2 separate regions of the Homo sapiens genome follow, and region 2 is linked to region 1. Evidence: promoter capture Hi-C in 16 types of primary human blood cells and fetal thymus (Javierre and others, 2016). All regions are on one chromosome and are shown on one strand. Each heading gives the region's core, a stretch centred on a gene start or on the middle of the fragment in contact. The rest is flanking DNA. Distances are from core to core; before and after follow the strand shown.

Evidence for each region. The method cuts DNA at HindIII sites, captures the fragments that hold promoters and counts their contacts. A CHiCAGO score of 5 or more calls a contact.
Region 2: a fragment that was not itself captured here is called in contact with the fragment with the promoter of CDH10 in region 1 in 1 of 17 cell types (endothelial precursors); the score reaches 5.4 in endothelial precursors.

Annotation. Positions count from the first base shown.
Region 1 is chr5:24,642,263-24,647,897 of GRCh38, reverse strand. CDH10 (cadherin 10) reads left to right here and starts at 2,920. Exons shown (of 12, transcript NM_006727.5): 1 at 2,920-3,304. It overlaps LOC124901174 (a long non-coding RNA gene), which reads right to left and starts at 3,189. Exons shown (of 2, transcript XR_007059125.1): 1 at 2,826-3,189; 2 at 2,384-2,587. RefSeq lists an enhancer at 2,628-3,223. The HindIII fragment of the contact is 4,637 bases long and covers 1-4,289 here.
Region 2 is chr5:31,225,522-31,231,156 of GRCh38, reverse strand. The region is part of intron 1 of CDH6 (cadherin 6); the gene reads right to left. Among named protein-coding and RNA genes, the nearest start is that of CDH6, 35 kb to the right of the region's middle. The HindIII fragment of the contact is 1,696 bases long and covers 1,626-3,321 here.

The sequences.
Region 1 (5,635 bases), core at 1,671-4,170:
CATTGAGAGTTTACTGTCCCTTTTACATTTCATTTATTCATTTCACTTCCCACGTGCTACCAGTTTCCTGATATTGGTAACAACAGGAAAACCCTATCTAATTCACAAGACTATTTCACATAAGATTTGGAGGGAAAATTATAAAGAAATAGAAAAACTTGCAGAATCCTAAGTTAACTCATTTATATTGTGAAATAAAGAAAATGAAAAATAATATTGTTTAATAAAACAAAACCCATTGTCAGAAGTTTTACATTTTAGTCAATGTTCTGTTTATTCTTTATTTTAATTTTAATTACTAGGGCGTATATTCGATAGGATGGCATTTGATCTCAGATATAGAGTCTTTCTAAGATGAGCATTAAGAAAAATGTGAATGGGTTTAATTCATTTATTGTTCAAATGTTTTCCTCTTCATTCTCTCACATCTATAACTAGATCCCCTGAACTTTGGAATACATGGATGCTTTGCCTATTATTTATTAATTATATTACTTGATCAAAAAAAGAAAAAATGCAATAACTGACAATTGTTTCATAAATGTTAAAATATTATTAACGTTATTTTGTATAGATACCTTTCACTAGCATTATAACATAATTTTAATTTTAAACTAGAATAAAAATTTGCTTTTCTCCAAAAAAGTACATTATACCAAATATACTACTCTATAATACATGAATATAATAGACAATCCTGCTGTTTGTACCCAATTCTGTCACCTCCCTAATAGCACCAGTGACTTTAGCTGGGCAAATAGTGAGAGTAAATACCACATCCCCAGCCTCCCTAGCAACAATGTGTGACCAAGTGTCTAAATTCCACCCAATGAGATCATGAAAGTGACATGTACATGTTCAGGGTCACATTTTTCAAAGGACGGGAGCAACTTTCTCTTGTTCCTTTTATTCCTTTTTCTAGAAGGTAGATGTGTGGTGATCTCTCCTGGATCATATAAATGAGTTCAATTCCTTAAAAACATTGAGCATCAAGACAGAAGGAAGCTGAGTTTCTGATGACTAGACAGGGCAGAATAAACACACCAACCAAAAACCTATGTAAGAGAAGCATAAACTATATAATTCAGAAAATGTTATTTTGGGAATACATCATTTCAACATGTATTCTAATTAATAAAATAGCAATTTACCTCAGATCTTAGCCTTTGGTTATTTTCTCGACCCATTTAAATGTAACCCCCAAATTCTTCACATTATGTAGTCATACATTTTGAAATTAGCACTAAACAAACATATGGAAATAGTTAATTTAATAAGAGAACAATGTGTGTGTGTGTACCTAACCTGCTGCATTTAATTAAATATTATAAATTTCTCTTGATAGCTAATTTAACATGTCAATAACAGTATTATATTGAATACACACATATACCAGGCAAACACAAATACACACAAATATACGTATCAGAGGTAAAAAACTGAATATCTATTTTCACTTGACTCTGAAATTAAGGCACCCTGTCGAAGAAAACATACAAAACATAACAAAAACTATGGGCAAATGATACGGTGATAATTCAGAATTCTAGCTCTATTATTATCAAACTTTAGAGGGGCCATAAAATTTTCCTGATCTTAATGCCATCGTCTGTAAAATTAAGAGTTTCAAAAGTCCATTTCTGCTCTAAATGTCATTTAGCTGTTCAGCTCAGTGGAAATGTTTGGTGTTTTCAAATATAAAACTAATTGGTAAAATTCATCATATAATAACACTGTGATACATTAAAACCTTTTTGGAATCTAATTTTGAATCTCCCTCTCACTTCTTTTTTGCCCCTCAGATTGAGTTTCTTCCTTTTTCATTGTGCTGATTATGTAAGGGGCCTGTTGACTGTTAGAATGATCAAACAGGTACAGAGGAGGCAGTATGGCAACCGGAAACAATACTAAACTGGAAGTAGGAGTGTGGTATTACAGCTTTGACCCCGCCTCCAGTTAGTCCTGTGACAATTTAACATTCTGAGCATTTTTATCTGCTAAAGAAATAATAATAATAACAGCCCAAAATGATCTTCGTAATTTCTCCTCTAGCTTTAAAACTATAATTGACATATATGTATTTATATGCATATATGTATGTATATGTGTATATAATTTATTTATGGATGGCACTTTAAAAGGAATCTACCTGTAGCCGGAAAAATGCAAAGATGTTAATTACTTTGTGGAGCTATACTGACATCCTTTGGTAAGGTTTGGTTGATTGCAATTTGATGTGGAGATTGATAAATAGCGAGACAGTTAGATGTTTAAGTAGATAGAACAATCCAAATGTATTTACATCTGTCCACACACTCATTTGGGTATGAAACCCGTATTTATGAGAAAAAACAACGTTAAAAAGAAAAAAAAGGAGACTGTGTCAAGTTCAAAGTCTAAATATTTTAATAACACTAATTACATATTTACATTTTTAATAAAATATTTTATCTATAAAGTATTAAAATGCAAAGATTAGGCAGAGAAGACTGGCTCGCGGACATTCCAAAATGATGAGCGAGGTATGCACTCCTGTGACAATAAGCAACAAGAGAAGGGATTTGGAAAATCAAGCCGAGAAAGTTCCCTGAAAGCAAAAAATAAACATTTAAAATCACAACGAAAAATCACTCTGGTAACATATCAAATCTGGTTGCAATTTGACTTGGCGCTCTGATAATACTTGGATTTCGGTAGTCTGGTGTAAGGACGGTGCAGGAATATATATTCCAGAAGAACTATCTTTTTTTAAAAAAAATTGCAAGAAGCAGTCCTGTTCCTGAGATTGTATTACGGACACAGGCGGATTAGATTGGGCTGATTACCTTAGCCTTGAAACAGAGAGTCTTTCTGCCCTGCGGGGGAGGGGACGCCTTTCAAGCAAAGCCCTCCTCTCGGATGCGCCCTCCCCTCGCATTCACTTGCAAATCGCTGTGTGCTCGCAGAAGCCAGCACTTCCACAGTCTCTAACCTTCCCATGGCGAGTGCTGCAGCTCTATCAGCAGAACCTTTCTCTCCGTGTGAGGAAGAGCTTTTTTCCCCCCTTTCCTTTTTTTTTTTTTTCCTTTCCCCTTAATCAGAAGCACTGAATGAAAGCCAATCAGAGAGAGCTCGCCCCCGTTTTCTTCGGTTCCCTGCTGTCCAGAGTTAAAAGTGATGCTGAGAAAGAGCTTGAGTTAGATTGAAGTAGAATCAGTGATAGAAAATAACAGCCGAAAACAAACAAAAAGGGGACATAGTGACAATTTCTCCTGGGTTATTTTGGCTGGAACCAACTTCCATTATCCAGAAGCTGATAAAAAAGGTAGGAAGACTTCACCTCTTTCTTTTAACTCCGTTAAGGTATTATATATTCCTCCACTTGAGGGGTGGGGGGGGAGAGGGAGGAGATAAATGTTTGTTTTTAAGTTGTGTTTAGCAATTATTTCAAAATAATTATCTTTAATACTTAAATAAGCATACAACTCTATATATTTAATTCTAGAAACAACTGCTTCGAATATCTATATAGGCAATGTAAAGCTGGATAAATTATATATTATGCTCAACAGTGGGTCATGATATTAGAGTTTGTGAATTCATTCACTTGGAACAAATGCTAAAAAATATGTTATGAAGTGAATTTGTCATGCCCAGACTTGTTCATTTTTATTTTAAAAATCAGTTCAAGAGATAACATTGTTACTGTGAACTCTAACATCATCTAACATTACTTTGCATTCCATATGAATGGATTCACTCTGCACTTATTCGTAGTCATAGTTCATTGTACGTTCAATATAAACAGAAATGACAGGCAGAAGACAGATTCCTTGAAACTGTCAATGGTCACTAAGCATCTACATAAATACAATAGATTGACATTCATCAGAAATAGAATAGGCAGAATTCTTATTTTCAATTTTATATCTGAGTCAGAAGTATTGGGGGGAGAGAGGTAAAGAGAGGGAGAGTAAATGCATGTAGTCAGCAGTTGCAGCATTTATTGTTTCTGCTGCAATAAAATCCATATTTTATGTGTTGTTAAATTAATGCAGCATATTGCAAGTATAAATGCATGTCCCCAACAAGTAACTATTGATAGCACTGTAACTATGGGCAAAAGCAGTAGTCTGAAATTGTTTTTATGCCACTAAAATAAAAACCTACTGTCTCCTTATTATGAAAAAAGGGGAGTCTACAGGTACAAAGACAAATATTGTTTTAAAAATGACCTATCATCTTTTGCTTTGAAAAAACAGATGTTTCCTATAATTGTGGTCCTTCATTCCTTCATTCCAGTGAAAGCTTCTATTATCCAAAACTGCACATCCATTACTTCTCAGCTCTTTGGAGATACATTATTTTTTCTCCTCTTTTTTTTTTTCTTGAAGGATCTGTATTAAAAATAATCTGTCCTTCTGATGTTGACAACTGTTATACTTCAATGCATATGTTAGTAGACTTTCTCCCTCCATACCATCCCCCTCTCTATCTTCCTTTAAAACGTAGCTACAAGAGCTTCTCTGTGGTGAATAACACTTGGCAAGAGTGTGCTCATTTTTTAGGTCTGGTATGGTGAGGATTTTTAATTAGTAGAACTTTCATGAAAACATTATGTCATTGACAGAGCCGTATGTTCATTTTTAGTTAAAAGTGATGAAGAAGAAAGAAAGAGGTTATGTCCTAGAAACACAGGTAAATGCTAAGTCGCATAGATAATCTGCACCCCGCTCCCCCGAGTGTACTAAATGTGGCACATATGTATTCAATGTGCAATGCATAAGGAAGTAATGGTTTATTTGGGGAGGGATGTGGTGAAGAGACTGGAGAGTGCACAGGTGTAAACAGCGTGGATCTGTGCCTTAGGGACACGTCAGATGCAAACCCATTCTGATGATAAAAATATAAAGAAATACTTCTTTCACTTTTTTTTTTTTTGGCTGTGTTATTAAAGTGTGAGTCAATGTCTGCTTTCATTAAATCAGATACTTCTTGGGTTTCAAATACTTGCTGTGAACAAATTGACTTCTCTGGTGAATGCATACGCCTTCCCTGACTTCAATCAAAGAATAGAATTTCATACACTTAAAGGTTTGGGGGAAAAAAAACAACAAACAAAACCAAAATCTCTGGGAAATGGGAAAAAAGAAGGTAAACTGTATGAGCATCCACCTACATATGCATATGTGTGAAGTCAATGGTTAAATTGTTTGGTACCTGATTAATGCTCTAGGTGATGTTCCTTGATGTTTATAGAAACTGTTTATTAATTAGAACAGTGCTATGCAGGTAATCAATTTAATATTTCATTGTTAGATTTTTACCCACACTGGGATTTTCTTTAAAAAAGAAAAAGAGAGGATACAAAACTGATTTTAATTTAGAGTGATATTTCTGACACGTTATTTACAAAGTTAGTGTAATCTGGAAGAGGTATGTTTTTTTTCTTGTTGAAAAATAGACTACTTGAAACTGGAAAGGTTAATTCCAAAATATATGAATCTTGCATAAAAAATAGGGTGAATTTCTTGACCTTTACTTAATTTTTTATATAAGCAAATAACTGAGGCAAAGTATATACTATCTGGGGGATTTCTGTGCTTATGACTGATTTCCTATGTCTCTTAACCTACTTTGCAGTAAGTGATAACAC
Region 2 (5,635 bases), core at 1,224-3,723, 6.6 Mb before region 1:
AACATTTGGCCTCTAAATCATTATAGGCTGAATCACCCTAAGATGAAAATAAGGCAGTGAAGACTGTTATCCAGAAGAAAAGAAAAATATTGCATTTGAATATACTTTCAACAAATGAAAACTATAATTAAAATATAATCATGTGATTAGAAGAATATTTAAAAGAGCATATTGTGTTTCCTGCATATTTTTATATGTGTAGGTTTTACATTTTAAAGAGTTTGTTCGTCTTAACATGGATTTAAGCATTTTGCATAAAGATTCACACTAATCTTTTCATTCACAGTTCATGAAGTCCCCTACAATTGTTTATTAATTAGCATATAATATTTTTACCTGGATGCTATACTGTATTGTTTAGCTTCTTTTGTATACATCTCTAATTTCTCTTTAGAATTATTTTGAGTTTGATTAAACTCAATGGATTTGTTGTTCTACTTGAGGACACAATCAAGATTATTCTGCAGATGGTTTCTAAATCATAGGTTAGTTTTTAAAAAAATAGCATTTTCATTTTTGCACGGAGGATTTGTTTCTCTTTGCTTTGCCTATAAGTTTCTTTTCTCATTTTTCACTGAGTACATTACTCATGGTCTTAAACATCTTCCGCTGCTTTCTTAAAGATGCAACAGGAAGATACATCTGTAGAGGAGGCCTAATGCTTCTGAATTCTCTGTTAATAAATACACTGGAAGTGTATTTTAACGGTGTTTAACATAAATACTTTAATACATACTCTCAGAGACTCTTTTTCTAGTAAGTGAAGGAAAATGAGCCAGACTTTTAAAAAAAGATATTCTCTGCCTGTGATGGTTATACAGACAAACCTGTGTATGATCCCCTAGTGAGTTCTCTATGTCTTTGGAGAAGTCATCTACAGGACAGAGATGACTTTTCTCCCATGCAAGTTAAGTTGATCTTTTAATTTGCAATGGTAGACCCTAAATATCACCTTGAGTGAGAACCTGCAGGAATTCAGAGGCCCTCAACTTCTTAACTGCTGTGTCTAAATTGGGACTTCAGGGCTCTTTCTGTGCCAAAGAGAAAGCAAATTCTCTTCAACTGGGATATTCTGCAAGGAGCGGAATCACTGTTATTTTGACTTTGTTGTTCAGACACGCCACAGTGGCAGCAGAAATAGCATCCGCCAATTAAACGCCCATACAGCATTCAAAGGATATGGAAGATAGAATTTAATTATGAAACAGATGACACTACTCAATCTTAATTGTCATACCAGGATCCAAGTCACTGGCCTGATAATCACCAGCCAGGAGAATGGAGAGCAAAGTCCCTTACGTCACCAAGGGCAAAAAGCCTCAGCCCGTAATTATGCTGCTCCTTAATAATCCCAATTAAGAGCAACAACAACAAAAACACAAAACTTCTTCCTATGTTCTGTGACATTAAGTACTGAGAAATGTTTATTCAGCTACTATGATGGTCCACAATTGCATTTCTCTTTGTCATAATTCATTCTTTCACTAAAAAATCCTTAGGTGGGACTCCGGAGTTTCTTGAATTCTCACAAGTGTTTTCAGAGTTAGAATTCTTTTTACATAAAAAAATTAACCACTTATTGGTTTAGCCAATAATATCAGGGGAACTAGAGACCTATAAAAGCTTCCAAATTGGCACCAGCCATACAGTCGTAAGAGCCAAGCTGCCTTAACAACTTGTTACAAATGCCTAACAGCTCCAGAGAGAAAATATTTTCCTGAGCCTCCAGTTCCTCATTCTGTTTTGCTTTTCTGCAAACTTCACAAAGATAACAGGCAATATGCTTCATTTCCTACCCTCCAATCTATTTTGGCCAAACATTTAATTTCTAACCAGTATGGTGACCAGAACTGGATAACAAGAGGTCTGTTAGCCAGGGTAGTAAAGCACCAGATTTGGAGTCAAACCAGTAGGCTTGCAGTCTTTGTTTTGCCCTTTCTTCCTTTATCACTGACTGAGTCTCTTCACCTTGATCGGACTCAGGTTTTGGAGAATCGGGTAGAGCTTGAGGGCTGTGTTGTAGATTAAATAAAATGATATAGTTTGGGCAGTTGGTACCCTTGGAAATGGCACGCAAGTGCTAGTTAGTATGACGGGTAATTAGACCTGTCAGTGTCAGAATGGAGAAAGAACTAACCTGTATTGAACATCTACTAAGAGTCTATCATTATATAAGGTACTTTTGTACTTTTTATGCCCTATGAGAGATGCATTATTTTCCCCACATTACAGGAAAGGAAATAAATCTTGGAGAGATCAAATAACATGCCTAAGATCAGGGGTTCCCCAACCTCTGGGGCCATGGACCAGTACCAGTCTGCAGCCTGTTAGGAACCCGGCCACACAGCAGGAGGTGAGTGGCAGGTGAACCAGCATTGTAGCCTGAGCTCCGCCTCCTGTATTAGAGGCATTAGATTCTCATAGGAGGGCGAACCCTATTGTGAACTGCGCATGTGAGGGATGCAGGTTGCGTGCTCCTTATGAGTATGTAGCTAACGCATGATGATCTGAGGTGGGACAGTTTCATCCTGAAACCATATCCTCTGCTCACCCCACCACATCTGTGGAAAAATTTTCTTCCACAAAACCAGTTCCTAGTGCCAAAAAGGTTGGGGACCACTGCCTAGGATTGTACAACTGGGTTATTGGCAAAGCTGGGGTGGGAGTCCATGGGTGTCTGACCCTGGGACATACTTTTCTCCATTCCACAAAGTTTGGAATCAAGGTGAATGCAGCTTCCTTCTCCAGCTGATTCACTTCCTGAACCTTGGCACTGGGGATCTGCAGCAGGCAGAACAAAGGCCTTCCAAATATGCCCACGTCCCAATCCACAGAACTATGTTATTAATACCTCACATGGCAAAAGAGACCGCAGATATGGTTAAGGATCTTGAGCTGTGGAGATTATCCTGGATCATCTGGGTGGGTCCAATATAACCACAAAGGTCCTTAGACCTTAAAAGAGGGAGGCAGGTGGGTCAGAGAAGATGGGACAGTGAGGCATGAGTCCGAGACAAAGAGAGAGAGATTTAAACATGCTACACTGTTGGCTTTGAAAATGGCGGAAGGGGCCAAGAAAACAGGTGACCTCTGGAAGCTGGGGATGGTAAGGAAGTGGCTTCTCCTCTAGAGCCTGTAGAAAGAACACAAGCACACCGACAGGCTGATTTTTAGCCCACTGTAATCACCTCTGACCTCTGACCTATAAATCTGTACGAGAATAAGTTTGTATTGTTTTGTGGTAATGTGTTTTGTGGTGTGCGTTGCAGCAGCAAGAAGCAACTAATACTGGTTCCTTGTCTTTTCTGGGTTTCTTAAGCTTCGTTTGTTTAGATGTAGGATGGTTAAGGTAGGGGTCCGTTCCCTCAGGAGGTGGGATGGAGCATGGAGACTGGGCATGTTGATGAGCAGGGAATATCTGAGAAGCACGGCCACAGCTTGTGGCTGACAGGGAAGCTATATTTGATTCTTTACAGAATAAAATTGGAGTTGGAGGCCAAAAGGATGTAAATTCTGGAGGAACCTTGGCAGAAGCCTTGATCTGTGAGGTTTTAGGAAGAGGTTGAAGAACTAGGGTGTTTGCCTCTGATGCACTGCTAGGGAGGGGGAGGTGTACATTCTATTCTAGAACGCTGGGAAAAAGCCAGGAAATATTTCTCTTCTGAACTCCCAAAAACTATAAAGCAAATAACTTCAAAATGTATATGCTTGTTTATTTATTATATTATGCTTATTATATTAATGTACTTCTATACTTGTATACAGTATATGGGACTGGGCAAATAAAAAATATCAGTTGAAAGGGTACATAATGAAAATATGTAAAGTATCCCAAAGCCCAAGTAGATTGTCTTCCACGTCCACCGTGGAGTGGAGGAGAGGGTGAGGAGGGTTTGGGAGAATGTGGTTTGACGGGCGGAGGTGCTTTCCCGCCGTACGTTCCTTTCCTTGTCTCTCGCCCAACTTAGTTTCAGAAAGGGGGTGAAGTGGGATAGGGTGAGGAGATACCTCCACTCTTCTTTCCGAGCATCAGCTAGGCAGGGAGATTTGTGTGCTTTGGAGTTTGAGGAGCCCTGTTTTAAGAGGAGTGTGTCTGCTGTAACCCGATGTGTGGTGCTAGGAGAAGCTGAGCAGCTTCCAGGGATGGGTCATTTTCAGGCTTTGCCCTTATATGGTTGGAACAGGCTCAGCCCTTTCTTATGAAAGCCATGAGACCACCTTTCTTCACATTTGATTCTGAGAAACACAACATACTTCAAAATCCTTAATTAGTCTCACAGAGTGATTTGATTGCATAATAATGAGGATAGTGGGATTTCACTGTCTCATCTTCAAAAGCCTAGTTTTTCACAACGTATTTGCAGTCCCAAACAGTTTCTGAAAATAGCAAAAACGACGAATTTGTGTTCCTAGTTTGTAAAAGCATTTCATGTTCAAGAGGAGTTTGAACTGACCGTTTTCTTCTCGTGTTGGTAGGAAGGAGGTGGGGACCCTGGGAGAGGAGGCAAAAAGGGACAAGAAGTAGGAGAACTGCACTCTGGTTGTGAACTTCCCTAATATGCTGTGTGAACATGGCCAAGTCGCACAACCTCTCTGTGCCCTGGGTTCCTCTTCCAAGAAAAGAAAGCGGCTGATTACTTGAAGAGATGATCACTTGTATGCCATCAGAAATAAGTACTCTGGGCCGGGCGCAGTGGCTCATGCCTGTGATCCCAGCACTTTGGGAGGCCAAGGTGGGCGGATCACCTGAGGTTAGGAGTTTGAGACCACCCTGGCCAACATGGTGAAACCTCGTCTCTATTAAAAATACAAAAATTAGCTGGGCGTGGTGGTGGGCGCCTGTAATCCCAGCTACTTGGGAGGCTGAGACAGGAGAATCACTTGAACCTGGGAAGGGGAGGTTGCAGTGAGCCGAGATTTTGCCACTACAATCCAGCCTGGGTGACTGAGTGAGATGCTATCTCAAAAATACATACATACATACGTACTCTGTGTATACTGTTCAAAGTATATTTTTCTGTGTAATGAGAACATGTCTTCTCAAACCTCCTACCCAATGGGCTACTTAGTTATATCTAACCTGAGAAGTGCATTACTTTATTTCAGGAAAAACCCTATTCTTAGGGCAGCAAAGGACCAGGGCAGGATGTAGGACTCTATGTTTCTCCTGCTAATTATACCTGGGGTATGTTGAATGGAGTATGTACTTGGAATGTGCATTCTGGTTCATTTACTTACCAGCTACGCAATTTTAGGAGAGTTATTTAACCTCTGTGCTATTCAGATTCCTTATCCACAATACTCTGTGGGGAAAACCGCACCCACCATGCAGTACCATTATGCACATTTGAATATGTAACACAGTTGGACAGTGATATGGTTTGGCTCTGTGTCCCCACCCAAATCTCATGTCGAATTGTAATCCCCACTGTTGGAGGATAGGCCTGATGGGAGGTGACTGGATCATGGGGGTGAACTTCCCTCTTGCTGTTCTCATGACAGTTAGTGAGTTCTCACACAATCTGGCTGTTTAAAAGTGTGTAGCACCTCCCCCTTCTCTCTCTTCCTCCTGCTCCGGCCACGTAAGGTATATCTGCTTCCCCTTCGCCAACCACCAAGATTGTAAGTTTCCTGA